5 separate regions of the Homo sapiens genome follow, and regions 1, 2, 3 and 4 are each linked to region 5. Evidence: promoter capture Hi-C in 16 types of primary human blood cells and fetal thymus (Javierre and others, 2016). All regions are on one chromosome and are shown on one strand. The core of a region is centred on a gene start or on the middle of the fragment in contact, and the rest is flanking DNA. Distances in the headings are between cores, read along the strand shown.

Evidence for each region. The method cuts DNA at HindIII sites, captures the fragments that hold promoters and counts their contacts. A CHiCAGO score of 5 or more calls a contact.
Region 1: a contact is called between the fragment with the promoter of GON4L here and the fragment with the promoter of HCN3 in region 5, in 11 of 17 cell types (fetal thymus, non-activated CD4 T cells, naive CD8 T cells and 8 more). The highest score is 17.3, in fetal thymus.
Region 2: a contact is called between the fragment with the promoter of ARHGEF2 here and the fragment with the promoter of HCN3 in region 5, in 4 of 17 cell types (neutrophils, fetal thymus, naive CD8 T cells and 1 more). The highest score is 7.3, in neutrophils.
Region 3: the fragment with the promoter of RXFP4 here is called in contact with the fragment with the promoter of HCN3 in region 5 in 11 of 17 cell types (total B cells, fetal thymus, non-activated CD4 T cells and 8 more); the score reaches 14.0 in total B cells.
Region 4: the fragment with the promoter of RIT1 here is called in contact with the fragment with the promoter of HCN3 in region 5 in 5 of 17 cell types (monocytes, fetal thymus, activated CD4 T cells and 2 more); the score reaches 8.1 in monocytes.

Annotation. Positions count from the first base shown.
Region 1 is chr1:155,855,964-155,858,663 of GRCh38, reverse strand. It overlaps GON4L (gon-4 like), which reads left to right and starts at 1,450. Exons shown (of 32, transcript NM_001282860.2): 1 at 1,450-1,517. RefSeq lists enhancers at 497-1,084, 1,371-1,570. The HindIII fragment of the contact is 10,340 bases long and covers 1-2,700 here.
Region 2 is chr1:155,977,237-155,979,936 of GRCh38, reverse strand. ARHGEF2 (Rho/Rac guanine nucleotide exchange factor 2) reads left to right here and starts at 1,390. Exons shown (of 22, transcript NM_001162383.2): 1 at 1,390-1,572. The coding sequence starts at 1,510. It overlaps ARHGEF2-AS2 (ARHGEF2 antisense RNA 2), which reads right to left and starts at 1,298. Exons shown (of 3, transcript NR_183460.1): 1 at 1,243-1,298; 2 at 482-617. RefSeq lists enhancers at 196-245, 1-254, 716-785 and silencers at 1,126-1,175, 1,236-1,395. The HindIII fragment of the contact is 25,844 bases long and covers 1-2,700 here.
Region 3 is chr1:155,940,369-155,943,068 of GRCh38, reverse strand. It overlaps RXFP4 (relaxin family peptide/INSL5 receptor 4), which reads right to left and starts at 1,431. Exons shown (of 1, transcript NM_181885.3): 1 at 1-1,431. The coding sequence starts at 1,359. The coding sequence ends at 235. RefSeq lists an enhancer at 878-1,377 and a silencer at 1,697-1,991. The HindIII fragment of the contact is 9,136 bases long and covers 50-2,700 here.
Region 4 is chr1:155,909,950-155,912,649 of GRCh38, reverse strand. It overlaps RIT1 (Ras like without CAAX 1), which reads left to right and starts at 1,301. Exons shown (of 6, transcript NM_006912.6): 1 at 1,301-1,407; 2 at 1,846-1,994; 3 at 2,144-2,200. The coding sequence starts at 1,889. The HindIII fragment of the contact is 5,298 bases long and covers 1-2,700 here.
Region 5 is chr1:155,276,166-155,278,872 of GRCh38, reverse strand. HCN3 (hyperpolarization activated cyclic nucleotide gated potassium channel 3) reads right to left here and starts at 1,410. Exons shown (of 8, transcript NM_020897.3): 1 at 1,005-1,410. The coding sequence starts at 1,282. The HindIII fragment of the contact is 9,883 bases long and covers 1-2,292 here.

The DNA of each region.
Region 1 (2,700 bases), core at 201-2,700, 580 kb before region 5:
AAAGCTGTTTAAAAAAAAAAAAAAAAACAACTAATGAAAAGTGCCAAAGTTAATCAGTGTTGAATTTTTTTCATGAACCTCAAGTGCTTAGGGTTTCGTATGAGAGAGGCCAAACCGAAAGATCTGTGTATTCTGTAGGTCAAAGAACAACACACATGAAACTCCGAGCTTCTGGAGTCTTCCTTGGTATTTGGGAGAGTTGGTGTGATTCAGGTTAGTCAGACTACTGCCATGTTTGCATAAATTTCAACCTTCATTTTGGCTGTGGATAATTTCATCCGTTGGATTCTGTTTACAGATAGGATTAGTTCAAATGTATAAATTTGTGTTGGTGGTTTACCTGTAAAATGAGGGGGTTGAAAGTATTTTTCCACCTTTTGACATTCTGTTTTTTATTATTTTTTTAATCTCCGTGGATTCCAGACATTGTTTTTCTAGAAAAGTGGAAATAACATCATTTTAGAAGTCATTCATTCATTCGCTCATTCAAAAAGCACGTATTGAATTATTGAACATCTGTTACACCCCAGGCAGCCTCCTGGACACTGGGTCAATGCATTATTAGCTAGAGTTAGGAGACTTAATACCTGATTCTCCTTGATAGCTGTCTGTGTACCGTTGTGAAATCACCTACTCAGATGAGCCAGAACTTTGTCCTGTGCAAACTGGAATATGATATAATAATCTTACAGTCTATTGTGGAGACCAAGTCACCTAAGAAAATGTGAGAGCATTTTGTAAAATGCAGAATATTGTACATATATGAATAATTACTATAGCCTGAGTCCAAGAGTGCCTTAGTTTTAATCAGGAGCCTGCACTATTTGTAATTTAGAGACTTCTTTTTCTGGCATTTTATGACTTCTTCAGTCCCTTGGTCCTGTGTTCCAGGTGACTCGTAGTGAGAAAAATTAGTTGTTAATCTTTTTTTTTTTTTGATACAGAGTCTCACTGTCGCTCAGGTTGGAGTGCAGTGGCACGATGCCGGCTCACTGCCACCTCCGTCTCCCGGGTTCAAGCGATTCTCCTGCCTCAGCCTCCGGAGTAGCTGGGATTACAGGCGTGCGCCACCACGCCCAGCTAATTTTGTATATTTAGTAGAGACGGGGTTTCACCATGTTAGCCAGGGTGATCTCGAACTCCCGACCTCAGGTAATCCGCCCGCCTCCGTCTCCCAAGGTGCCGGGATTACAGGCGTGAGCCACCGCGCCTGGCCCCCAAATTAGCTGTTAATCTAAACCACTGAATCTTAACCTCAGTTTTGAGTAGGATAACTCCATGGGCAGAGAAAGCTAAGTAGTGCCTTTAAATTTTTTTGCCAATAACTGACGCACTAACGTTGTGGCTTCACTCTGCCCTAAAATGGGATGGCGCATAGTGTTAGGCGCATGCTCCTTGATGCACTGCGGCGCGGCGCTCCGAGGCTCGGGGACGCGCACGCAATTCGCTGTTGTTGGCTGACTTCCGGTGGTGCCAAAGCCGTTTCCGTGGAATCAGGCCGGCTGGTGAGGGTACAGGTTTGTGTGTGGTGGGGTGGGAAGAGGCAGGTGGGAGCTGGGACACCTGGACGAACGATGTCCAGGTTGAGAAGGTCGGGTCTGAGGGTGGGCGCTGGGTGCGTGGCGGAAGTTAAGGGCGTGAAGTCCAGTGTCTAGTTGGGAATGGGGACTGGAGCCAGCCCTGGGCACCGAGGTGGAAGCGCGGTTAGGACCCCTTTTGAAAATGTTTTCCTAGGAGAGGGCCGTGCCGGGGCTGCCTCCACATTGGCATTCATTCACCCTGCTGGTCCGACTTGGGTTCCCAAAAAAGTGGATTCTGTCGAGCTACTGCTGTGTTTGAGGTGCCTGGAGCTGAAGTAGCTGTCTTTCTTTCCTTCTTTTTCTTTCTTTCTTTTTCTTTTTTTCCCCTTTTTTTGATCTCAGTAATTATCTGTGAAATAAAAGAGCTGCCCTGGCTACTCCCATTCTATTTCTTATAAGGTCACCACCATCTCTCACAGGAATCAACGAAATCTTCATGTTTTATTGAGCTTTAGTTACTGAGTTTTAATTACATCAGTTGATTGAGGGGATGGAGAATCTCCCCTAATGTCTTGGAGAAACAGAAGGGAGGTTTAAAACTAACTGTAGGTCGGGCGCGGTGGCTCACGCCTCTAATCCTAGCACTTTGGGAGGCTGGGGCGGGAGGATCGCTTGAGGCCAGGAGTTTGAGACCAGCCTGGGTAACAAATCGAGACCCCGTCTCTACAAAAAAAAAAAAAGAAAAAAAGTCGTTGAGGGTGGTGGCAAGTGCCTTGTAGTCCTAGCTACTCGGGAGGCCGAGGCCAGAGGGTCACTGGAGCCCAGGAGTCTGAGGCTGCAGTGAACTAGGATCTTGCCACTGCACTCCGGTCTGGGCAACAGAGCGAGACCTTGTCTCTGGAAAGAAAGAGAGAGAGAGAGAAAGAAAGAAAAGAAGAAAGAGAAATCTAACCTTAGACGCTTAGAGTTACAAATAACTTTTATTTTTCAGTTCTCTAGTTCAGGCTTTCATCTAGTACTCTGATAAGTGGACATTCAGGCTTCGCTTGAACATTGCCAGTGATCTAACACAAGGCGGCTTATTCTATTATTGGATCTATTTATGACAGTAAAGTTTTCCTGGGTAATAAGATGCCTTTTTTTTTTTTTTTTTTTTTTTTTTTTGACAGAGTCTCCCTCT
Region 2 (2,700 bases), core at 141-2,640, 700 kb before region 5:
CCTTTTTCCTGGTCTTTGCTATTTAAGGATTCTAAACAGGGGAATGGGTGAAGAAGGAGGTGAAGGAGTTGCTAGGAAGGAGGGGAAGCCGGAGGGGCAGTGTGGGGGTAGTGCTGGGGGTGAGGAGCCCAACCAGCTCAGCCAGTGGTGAGGTAGTGGAGCCCAAAAATAGTGGCAGAGGCTAAAATTGGCACCTACAAGAGTGCTGAGTTGGGCTTGAAACCTGCAGCCTGGCCCCACTGCTGAGCCAGGGCAGAGAACTGCTGGATCTGGGTTGGGTCTCCCCTCCCTCCCTTCTTCTCCCACGCCCTTTGGGGCCAGAATCAGGCAGGACCCTGCTAACCGAAGGCTCTGTCCCAGGCCTCTCTGTGCTTCTGGTTTCTCCAGAGAAATGGGAGACCCTGAGAGGCAGAAATGAACTTCACTGTAAGTGATCATAGTTAGACTGGAGGAGGAATTTTCCCAATAGCAGGAAACTCACCCAAAGGCTGGCTCAGGCTGGGGAAAAGGGTCCAGAGAGATGAATGCCCCACCTTACCCTGCTTCTTGGGGAGAGGCTGGTTGGGCCCTAACTTTCTTTGACTAGGGCAGGCTGGTTTCTGGTCTTTCAGTTCCGGCTTAACTTGCAACAGAGAGAACTGCAGTTAGACACATGGAAGGCCTTCGGTAAAAGTGGAGAATCCCAACCTAGTCCCCCAAAGTAGCTGGCAGAGGCGGAGCTAGGAGGAGGGCAGAGTGGGGTCAGGAAGGCCCCAGAAGGGTGGGGCATGTGGGAGAATTCTCTCCTCTCTGTTCTTCGACCTCTGGGAGTGAATCCTACCCTTCCCGTGTACTGAAGATCCAGCGTTTAGTTCTCCTTTGATTTCCTCTCCCTCTGGCCACCCCTGCCCCCAATCGTAAAAGGGGTCAGTCTGCTCAGGCCTGCTTTGATGGGACCCCGAAGGCCAGGAAGGAACTGGTCCTGGGTTTTCTAAGAGCTGGGGGCGGATGGAATTCTCCTGCCTGCGGGTCTTTAAAGACTGAGGTAACGCAGTAGGGGAGGGAAAAAGGGAGGGCGAGGGGAGAAGGGAAGAAGGGGAGGGCAGAGGGGAAAGGGCCAACCTGGGTCCGGCGAGGGCTGCGGGGCTGGGTTTTAGGAAAAGAAGAGCTAAGAGGCGGGTCTCTGGGGCTAGAGGGCGCCCCCAGGCGCTGGAGGGGAAATAGGCAGAGGGGCCTCTCAAACCTGTCCTAGGACCCTCGTACCTCTCCGAGCTGCCCCCACACAAACCCTGGCGTCCCGTCCTGCGCGCGGGCACCCCGCCCTCCCTCCGCTCCGCCTACCCCCTTCCTGAGCTTGGGCGGGGGAGGAGACTCGGGTTTGAGGAACTGGTGCTGGGTGCCGGGCGAGGGGAGTCAGACTTCCTGTCCCCGAGACCAACGCGTGCGGGCCGAACCCCTCCCCCCGCCTTCCCCCAACAATACAGGACGCCGGGGTCCGCGCCGCGTCCTCCCTGGTCCCCCCGTCCGATTATGTCTCGGATCGAATCCCTCACGCGGGCGCGGATCGACCGGAGCAGAGAGCTGGCGAGCAAGGTGGGCTCGGAAACCCCTCTCCTTTCGCCGCGGTCCTCGGGTGCTCCCCGAACCCCGGCACCCGCGGTGCATCTCCTGTCTCCCCGCCTGCTTTCTGGGCGCCAAAATCGGGCGGAGCGGTGGATCGGCGAGCGGCGGGACGGGGTGGGTGGGGACTGCGAGCGAGTGGGTAGGGGTGGGGGGAGCGGCAGACGCGACGGTGCTGGGATCCCGGGAGGGAGCGGAGCGGACCTGGGCTTGGTCGCCTCCAAGCCGGCGGGACCGAGTGCTTTAGGCCGCTTGAAAGAAAGTTGCTCCGGTAAGGGACGGAGCGGGAAGAGGGAGGTGTGTGTCTCGCGGGTGGGGGCGGTGGAAGCTCCGGCACCTCCTCTCACCCCGGGCCCCACCGGCTTGGGCTTGGCGTGGCGACCCCCCATCACTCCCCAATCGCTGGCTTGGTCGTTCCCCCTTTGTCCCCGCCATCCGGCGGAGGGGACGGGAGGGGGTGGTTTCCCGGCTTCCTCCCACCACCACCACCACCCCTCCAAGACAAAAGTCAGCTCCTCCTCTCCTCGCAAATGGACTTTCCAGCTGTGATTCAGTTCTCCCCTCTGGGTGGGCGGGTGGCTGGGGTCGGGACGGCCGAGGGACGGCTTACTTCCCCCAAACCATCACCTCTAGGTGAAGGGAGCAGAGGTCTTTGTGTAGCTGGGCTCCTTTCCTCCATCCTGAGCCCTTCTGCCTGGAACATAGGGCCTCCATCCCTATCTGCCCCGCCAGCCTCCTAGCTCTTCCTTCTCCCAACCTGAAACCCTTAGGCTGACACACCTGGCACTATGCATTGTGTTCCCTGCCCTTCCTCCTCCTCCCCCAGCGCTCTCATTCTCTTATCTGCTCGTCTTGGGGTCCCTTCACCTAGCATTTCATGAGTCTGGGTGTATAATTATCCACACGCCTCCCCCATCATGACCTCTTGGCCACTCCTCTCCAAGTACCCTTTATCCCTGCCTTTGTACCCAGCCCCATTCCCAAGTGCCCTGACCTTTCCACACCCAGACCCCAGGAAATGATGAAGCTGACTTGCAGGTGAATAAGTCAGAGCTGAAAGGAAGGTGGTGCCTGCAGACAGCACCTCCCAGCTCCTTTGGG
Region 3 (2,700 bases), core at 182-2,681, 660 kb before region 5:
TTTATTCTCAGATCCTCTTCTTTCCCATCTCCAAATAAAGACTTAAGCTTTGTCACATCCAGCTCTGATCTGAGCCCCCGCCTCCCCCATTCACCACACCCAGAGTTGGGGATCAAAGATCAGACTTTTCCCTGAGGGCACTGCAGCCTGGCAGAGAGGGCAGCTTCTCCCCAGGACTCAAGGATCCTACACTTGGTGGATCTCAGAAAGAGGAGTGTGTTCAGCTTGCGCCCTTCACCCGGGTGTCCCTCTGTCCAGGTTGGTGAGCAGGGTAGAAGGGCGGCTCTCCCGGGGGTTGCTTGCGACCCACCGCCTGCCTACCTGCTTTAGGGCCACCTGTTGCACCCAGCCTCCGCCCTGGGGCCACAGCCTCAACCGCAGATCCCTGAAGGTGCCTGCCAGAGCCTGCCGGGGCTCCCGCCTCAGGAGACAGTACAGCACAGGGTTGAGGCAGCTATTGCTGTGTGCCAAGCAAGTAGTGACAGGGAAGACATACGTCTGGATAGTATAGAAAGTACTGTTCCAGGGCACCAGGTCAAACTTCACCAGGACACCCCAGAGAGTGACCACATGGTTGGGAAACCAGCAGAGGAAGAAGGAAGCCACCAGGATGCGGACAGAGCGGGCCACGACCCTGCTGTCCTGCCGCCGCCGTTGCCGCCGCTGCAGGAAGGCCAGCAGCAGCAGGTAGCTGGTGGTGATGACGCCCAAGGGCACCATGAAAGCCAGCACCACCCTCTGCAGCTGGTAGGCCCCCAGCCAGTACCTGCTGGGGAAACGCAGCAGGCAAAGGCGCACACCACACACCTCACCCTCCACCCCGAAGACAGCTGTGGGCACCGTCACCAGGGCAGCCGCCGCCCACACTGCCAGGGTGGCTATTCGGGCCCAGAAGAGTGAGAGGTGGGTGCCTGGCCCCGCAGCCATGGCCACCACCCAGTAGCGAGCAACGCTCAGCGCTGTGATGAGGAAGATGCTGGCATAGACGTTGAGGACAGTGGCCGTCAGAACCATCTTGCAGAGGGCACCTCCGAAGGGCCAGTGAAAGTCCAGTGCCGACTCGGCTGCCCAAAAGGGGAGAGTGAGTGCCAGTCCCAGGTCCGCCAGAGCCAGGTTGAAGACGAAGGTGTCTGAAGGTGGGCCAGGGGCTCTCCGGGCACAGTTACTCAGTACCCACAGCACCGCCAAATTTCCCAGCAAGCCAATGGCCCCCACAAGCCCATAGGCCAGGGCAACCATGAGCCTCAGGGCTAGGAATTTGACAGGCATCGGAGCATCATCAGCACTCAGCACACTGCCTCCGGAGGCATTGGCCCAGAAGAATGTGGGTGGAGAGGCAGAAGTATTGAGTGTGGGCATCGCAGGGCATCAGAGATTGGTGGTGCTGAGAAGAGAGGTCTGCAAGTGTCTGCCAGACTGGCAGAGGCCACTGAAGGCTCTAGGAAGGAGGCTGTAGAATTAAGTGCTTCTCTGGGGCCTCTGGTGAGCCCTGGCCCACGCCCACACCTCAGAGGGAGGGGTGTGGAAAGGACAACCCACCACCTTCCTGTTGGTCAAGATTGGTGGTAGGTGGGGCAGGGCGAGGCACAGCCTGAATGCCAGGGTATATGTGCATGCGCCCGCCTGTAAGAGGGGCTCTAAATGGCAGAGAGGGAGGGGAGAAGGGAGAGTTACCCCGCTATGGAGGGCAGCCCCAAGCCTCCACCCCAGGGAGAGAGCTGGAGGTTCCCTGTCCCAGAGATGACAGGAACCAAACTAGAGCTGCCTCTGTTCCTAACAGTGCAGAGGCCTCCCTCCTCTGCAGAAAGTGTTCCCTTGGGGCCCAAAGCAAGGGGCCTGGGAGGTGGCATAGAGGCAGGGAATCAGCATGGGTGTCCAAGAGAGGAAAGAGCGGAGGCTGCGGAGTCCCAGACCTGCTGCTCACTAGCCGTGTGACTGGGAGAGTTACTTTACTCCCCTAAGCCTGTTTTCTTGCTTAAAATTTTCAGGTAAGTCTGCTTCACAGGAGTGGCATGATGCAATGAGAGAACACATGTGAAATAGCAATTTGTATGAATATTATTTCAAAGGAGAAGTTTGGGGTGTTTGTGGCAGAAGGGTACTGAGAGGCTATTACCATGCCCAGGGAACAGTGCCAACTAAAACAGGTTGGAATTCATCTCAGCAGCAGTGACCTTGAGGCTAAGAGCAGGGAGGGAAAAGAGAGAGGAAGTCACAGCTTCCTGTTTCCTCCCCACTGGGAACACTGGGCCTATGAGGGCCTGTGTGGACCTGGGCATGCCCTCAGTTCTGTTCCTGCTCCTGATAATTAAACATTCCTGCTAACCTCTATCGCCGCCTTTCCCCCCTTTCCTGCTCTAGTCTGTGGACAGAGCTCAGCGGTCCCCCTACTCTCTCCTGCAAACCCCATGTCAGAGCTAAGGATCCTGAGATACGCCCTCACCACACCTCATCCTGTCTCCCCATGATCTCAATCATAACTGGAAAAAAAAAATGCTTCATTGGGCCCTCCCCTTTCATTGCCTACATCTCTACCTACTGCAGAAGGAGCTGAGGTGGGGACAAAGAGAAGGCAGGAGGTGGATAGGTAAAAGAGTAAGGCTTTCTCAAGGATTCCAATATATTCAGCCCCTTCTTGCCCTCTGCCAGCTAATTAAGATAACGTTCGATGTTCAGTTCCTTTGGAGTGCTGAGGGAAGA
Region 4 (2,700 bases), core at 52-2,551, 630 kb before region 5:
TTCAAGTGGTTCTCCAGCCTCAGCCTCCTGAGTAGCTGGGATTATAGGCACCTACCACCATGCCCAACTAATTTTTATATTTTTAGTAGAGACAGGGAGTCACCATTTTGGCCAGGCTGGTCTTGAACTCCTGATCCTCAAGTGATCAGCCCACTTCAGCCTCCCAAAGTCCTGGGATTACAGGCGTGAGCCAGCACTCCTGGCCAGAAAGACTTAAATTTTGAGACGGAGTTTTGCTCTGTTGCCAGGCTGGAGTGCAGTGGCACCCTCTCAGCCAGCTAACTGCAACCTCCACCTCCCAGGTTCAAGTGATTCTCCTGCCTCAGCCTCCCGAGTAGCTGGGACTTATAGGCGCATGCCACCACACCCAGCTAATTCTTTTGTATTTTTAGTAGAGACGGTTTTACATGTTGGCCAGGATGGTCTCTTATTTCTTGACCTCATGACTCACCTGCCTCGGCCTCCCAGAGTGCTGGGATTACAGGTGTGAGCCACCGCGCCCGCCCGGCCCAGAAAGACATTTAAAAAGAACAGTGGTAGGCAGAGCTGCATGAGAACAATTTTCGTGTCAGTTTCTTCTAGCACCTGTGCTACGTAAATAGAGGGGAATATGGTTATAGTGGCTGCGCTTCAGTTCTGTATTTAACTCAAGGCCTCTGTTAACTCAGAGCTCTCTTTCCTGCCAGAGTGTGGTACATTTATTTAAAACAAGTTTTTGTGTGTCTTATACGTGTTTAAAATACATACAGAACTCTGATTAGGGAGTGTTGTGAACATCTGGTTTCTGAGAATGAATTTAGGTTTCAATAGCAAAAGTCATTGTGGCCGCTCCTTTAGGAAAGTCATTTTTCTCCTATGAGTAGTCATCCCCGGTAGACTTGACTGAAATCCTGTGTTTTAGGAGGATTTGGGGGGTGCCCCTGTCCTCCCTTCCTCTCATTACATTGGGTCAAATTAGTTTTGGGTTTTTTTTTTTCCCACAAGCAGCAAACAACCCTCGGTAAGTTGTTAATTTAAGTGTCCCTGCATGTCTCTTATCACGTACTCCCTTCCCTTTTGTGTAAATAATTTACTTTCTACTCGTGATTAAATACCCTTGTCTGTGAGTGCATACACCCTAGGTTGGGTAGGTGACCAGAGGACCTTCAGCGGTGGGTCCCGGAACTGGGTTTTAGGGACCTGGGAGGGGCGGGAAGAGGGCGGGGCAGGCTGTGGGCGTCACTGAGTGGCCCCGCCCCTCCTTCCGCGACTCGGGCGCCGGTGGCGCCATCTTACTCGGTTGCGGGAGGGGTCACAGGTCAGTGCCGGAGCCTCCGCGAGTGAAGGAAGACGAAGTGCGTGACCCGACCGGCTGTGGTGTTCCAGTCCCCACTGACCAGTAGGAGCAGCAGGGCGTCGGCTTGTGAGGTAGAGGGGTGGGGAGTCTGGCGGCGGAGCAGCAGCTGGGGGTGGGGAGGGGGTTCGGAGGAGAATGGGGAGGGGGCGGAACCTCTGGGTACCGCAGACGTGAGAGAACCCCTGCGGCCTAAGGGGCCGCATCCCTTTCTTCCCAAAACTTTCTCCTTGTCCCTACTGTGCCGAGACGTAAATTTATTTGTATCTTTTTATTTTTCTCTTTGGAAAAAGTAAAACCTGTGATGTGTCATGTGACTGAACTGTCTAGGAGGGAGGGTGAAGATGGGGGGGTTTCTTAGGGCCACCCGAAAGGGTGCAGTGGTGAGCAAGAGGGACAGGCCAGAGTAAGAGGGACAGGCCAGAATATGTATGGAAAGGTAAGGCACTGGCTTGAGGGCTGTCGCCGTGGTGTCTCCATCCTGGATTAAGCATTTCCTCCTCCTTTTCTAGGTGGCTTTTCCTCGGGGCAACCGAGGAAGGCCCCAAGAGGACAATGGATTCTGGAACTCGCCCAGTTGGTAGCTGCTGTAGCAGCCCCGCTGGGCTCTCACGGGAGTACAAACTAGTGATGCTGGGTGCTGGTGGTGTAGGGAAGAGTGGTAGGTAACATTTTCCATTTGACAGGAAGCATGGATGAAAAGTACTTAAATGACCAGATGGGATACTTGCTATCTTGCAATGTTAATACTTAAAATTCTCTCTGTGGGTCACCTTTGTGAGGATTTGACTTTTATTTCTTCTTTTGAAGCCATGACCATGCAGTTCATCAGCCACCGATTCCCAGAAGATCATGATCCCACCATTGGTAAGCCAGATCATCACTTATGTTTCCAAATATACCCCATAAAAATATCTTAATGAATATCAGTAGTTTCTAACTATTTATATTTTGAGGCTTTTTTGGAGTCTAATTCAGATTTATTTAGAAACAAGGGTATCAGCAGTTGGTAAGCAACTGAATATTTCTTTTTTTTTCAGACTTTATGTCATAAGCCATCTTTAGTCTTTGTCTCTTACTGAACATTAATGGGACAACTCTCTTTGTTGTATTTTTTTATGGTTGTATACAGGCCACTTAACGAAGCCTTTTCTTGCTGTCACTTCTCTAAGGGTATGACTTGAGACTCGCTCTGTAACTGTGAGTCAGCTGGTTTGAACTTCCACAAAAGGAAGCAGAGAAACAAGTAGAGCCAGGCTGCTGAACTCTTACAACCCAGACATGCCAAGCCTGGACATCTTGCACTTGGAGCTCTTGGTTTACTTCCTTATACCTTAAGTTCATTACGTAGTAATGTCTTCTCCCAT
Region 5 (2,707 bases), core at 161-2,660:
CCGTCTGCGAGTGAACTGAGGGAAGAGAGTGAGATCCACAGGAGACTAGAAAAGGCGCACTGGCTGGGTGGGAACGAGGCAGCAAAGACAGGAGTGAAAGGAACAATGGGAGGAAGAGAGACATAGAGGGAGTGTGTATATATGTGGATTCAAGATAATGTCTGGGTCTACAACTGTATTTCGAGGCTCCAGATTCACACCTCTTCCTCTCTGCTTCTTTAGTTCCCCAGGTTAGGTGCTTTGCACACATCCCTGCCTCATCCAAGAGCTGTCCTTCATTTCCCCCAAGGACAGGGCTGCTGTCTTCCCCTAGCGACCTTGATGTAGAGGTACACCCTGACGGAGACTGTGAAATGGCCCCACCCCCACCCTCTGTTCCTTCTCTGGGAGTCACCTGGGTGGTGGTCCTGCCCCTGCTTTGCCGCCTCAGTCACTCTGAGTCTCGGCCCCGCCCCGCCGCCCCCGCCTTCAGCACTAGGGACAGCGACCAGAGCTGAGGTCTGGACCCCCCGCCCCCTTCAGCGTCCCTATTTTTCCTGGTAGTCTGTCATGCTGAACTAGGCAGGTGCTAAGGAGCGGGTGTGGGGATGGGAGATGGCGGAGCTCGGCTTCTCCCTCAGACTGGCCCCGATACTTAGAATATAATTTCCTAGATCTCCAGCAAGCAGGACTGGAGGAGGCAGGGGTCCCAAACTCTGGTAGTTCCTTTGGTCCGGATGGGGTCCCGGGTTCCTGAAAGAGGAAATCCAGGTCTCTGGAGATCCCCTGATGTCTGCTTGCCCCTTCTGGTGCCCCCAGCCTGTCCAGGCACGGAGGACCTCCGGCAGGGGATACCCGCCCAGGAATTCCCAGGCTAGACTGGTGCAAGTGACTCTCCCGCCCCACCAAGGGACCCCGGGCTGGAAATGAAGTGACCGTGGAGGGTGGGGCGGGCCGGGTCCCGGTGTCGCTGCCCGCGAGGGTGGGATTGATGTACCCTGCCCTCCCCGCCAAGCCCCCAATACCGGAAGTCGCTGTAGGGGTGGATGATCCAGGCCCCCGCTGACTTCACCCGCTCCTGCTCGATTTCCACTGCTTTGTGGCTGCCGAACACCCGAAGGGAGAACTTGTTGACCGTAGGCTGGAGCAGCGTCCCAAGGTGCCTCCTCTTAGGCTCAGGCCCAGATTTGGGGATCGGACCTGAGGCCGCGGTCGCAGGCGGGGGAGCAACGGGAGGCACCGCCTCCAGTCCAGGGGTCGCCCCTTCGCTGGCCCCCGCCGCCGGCCGCTGCTCTGCCTCCATGGCGCCCACCCCGCTTACACGCTCGGCCTCCTAGAGCCCTCTGTGGCCATCAGGTACCCGCAACCCCTCCAGAGCAGGAGTCGGCGCAGCCCCGCGGGCTCTAGCGGAGGCGTCGTAGGCTCGGAATCGCCGGCGCGCGGGGCGGAGGGGGTGTGTGCTAGACTGGCGGGCGGCGGGCGGGCTGCGCGGCGCCCCCTGGCGAGGGCCGCGCCAAGACCGGGCGGGGCTGGGACGCCGGGATCCTGGAGGAACTCCGAGAGGGGCGTGGCTTAGCAAAGAAGGCGGGGAGCGCAGCCTGAGCCAGGGAGAGGGCGTGGCCTAGCGTTGGCCTTTCATCCACTGAGAACCAGGGAGGAGGAGCCCCCTGCAGTGGCGGGAAAATCGGACGCGGGTTTGTAGCTTGAAGGACTTGGGAGGGAGAGGGATTGGGGACCAATGGAAGAAGTGGAAATGGCTTTTGGGATTCTTCTCCACTCTCGCCCAGGGACTTCTGTCCTGCTCCCGTCTTCTCTCAACACTGTCCTAGGCATATTCTTGTCTTTTGGTCTCCTCCGAACTGCTTCCCCTAGTATTTAATTTCCTAATTCATTCTGTCAGCCTTCACCAAGTGCAACTCTGCCTGTCATTGAGTGGATGCTGAGGAAACAAAAATGAATACAAAAGTCCTAGTCTTAGCATCTCCATGTAGTAATGGAAAACAACACAAAACAAAACAAAAACAAAGGCCTAGCCATAAAGCCACTGCTCATCTGTGCCCAACGACAGACAGGTAAATTGCAGTGCTATGCGAAGTGCTACAAATTCCTAAATATCTCAAATTCTCCCCTTCATCTCCAATTCTTATTACCACTGCCTCATTTCAAGCCCTCAGCATTTTTTCACTTAAATTACTTCGGAAACCTCTAAAAGAGTCTTCAACCTCTTCCAGGCCAATTCTTCTTCCATTCCCTGCCAGTTACCTTCCTAAAATCCAACTATGGCTGTGTCACTTGCTTGAAGCCCATCAAGCTTTCCCATCTTCTACAGGGGTACATTTAAGCTGCTTAGCATGGTGTACCAGGCCCAAAAAATTTGGACCTAGTTTCAACAGTCTCTCTTCTGACAGTCCCTCTCTTGAAAGCCACAGCCCCAATCATGCTGAAAGACTTTGTGCTGCCTTGTCTCTATGCTTTTGCAAATATTTTCTCTGCCTGGTATTCTCCTCCAATTCACTTTCGAACAGTTGGTTCAGATCTTGCTTTCTCTAGGAAACCTAGGAACACATTTCCAACTCTCCTTTCCTCAGGTAGGGTCTATTCTAGAGCTTTTTTACAGCAGCCAGGGCACCACTGTTTTGAGCAACTCATGTCACAGGGCTACCATTATTATTATTATTTTAGAGATGAGGTCACACTATGTTGCCCAGGCTGGTTTTGAACTCAGAGC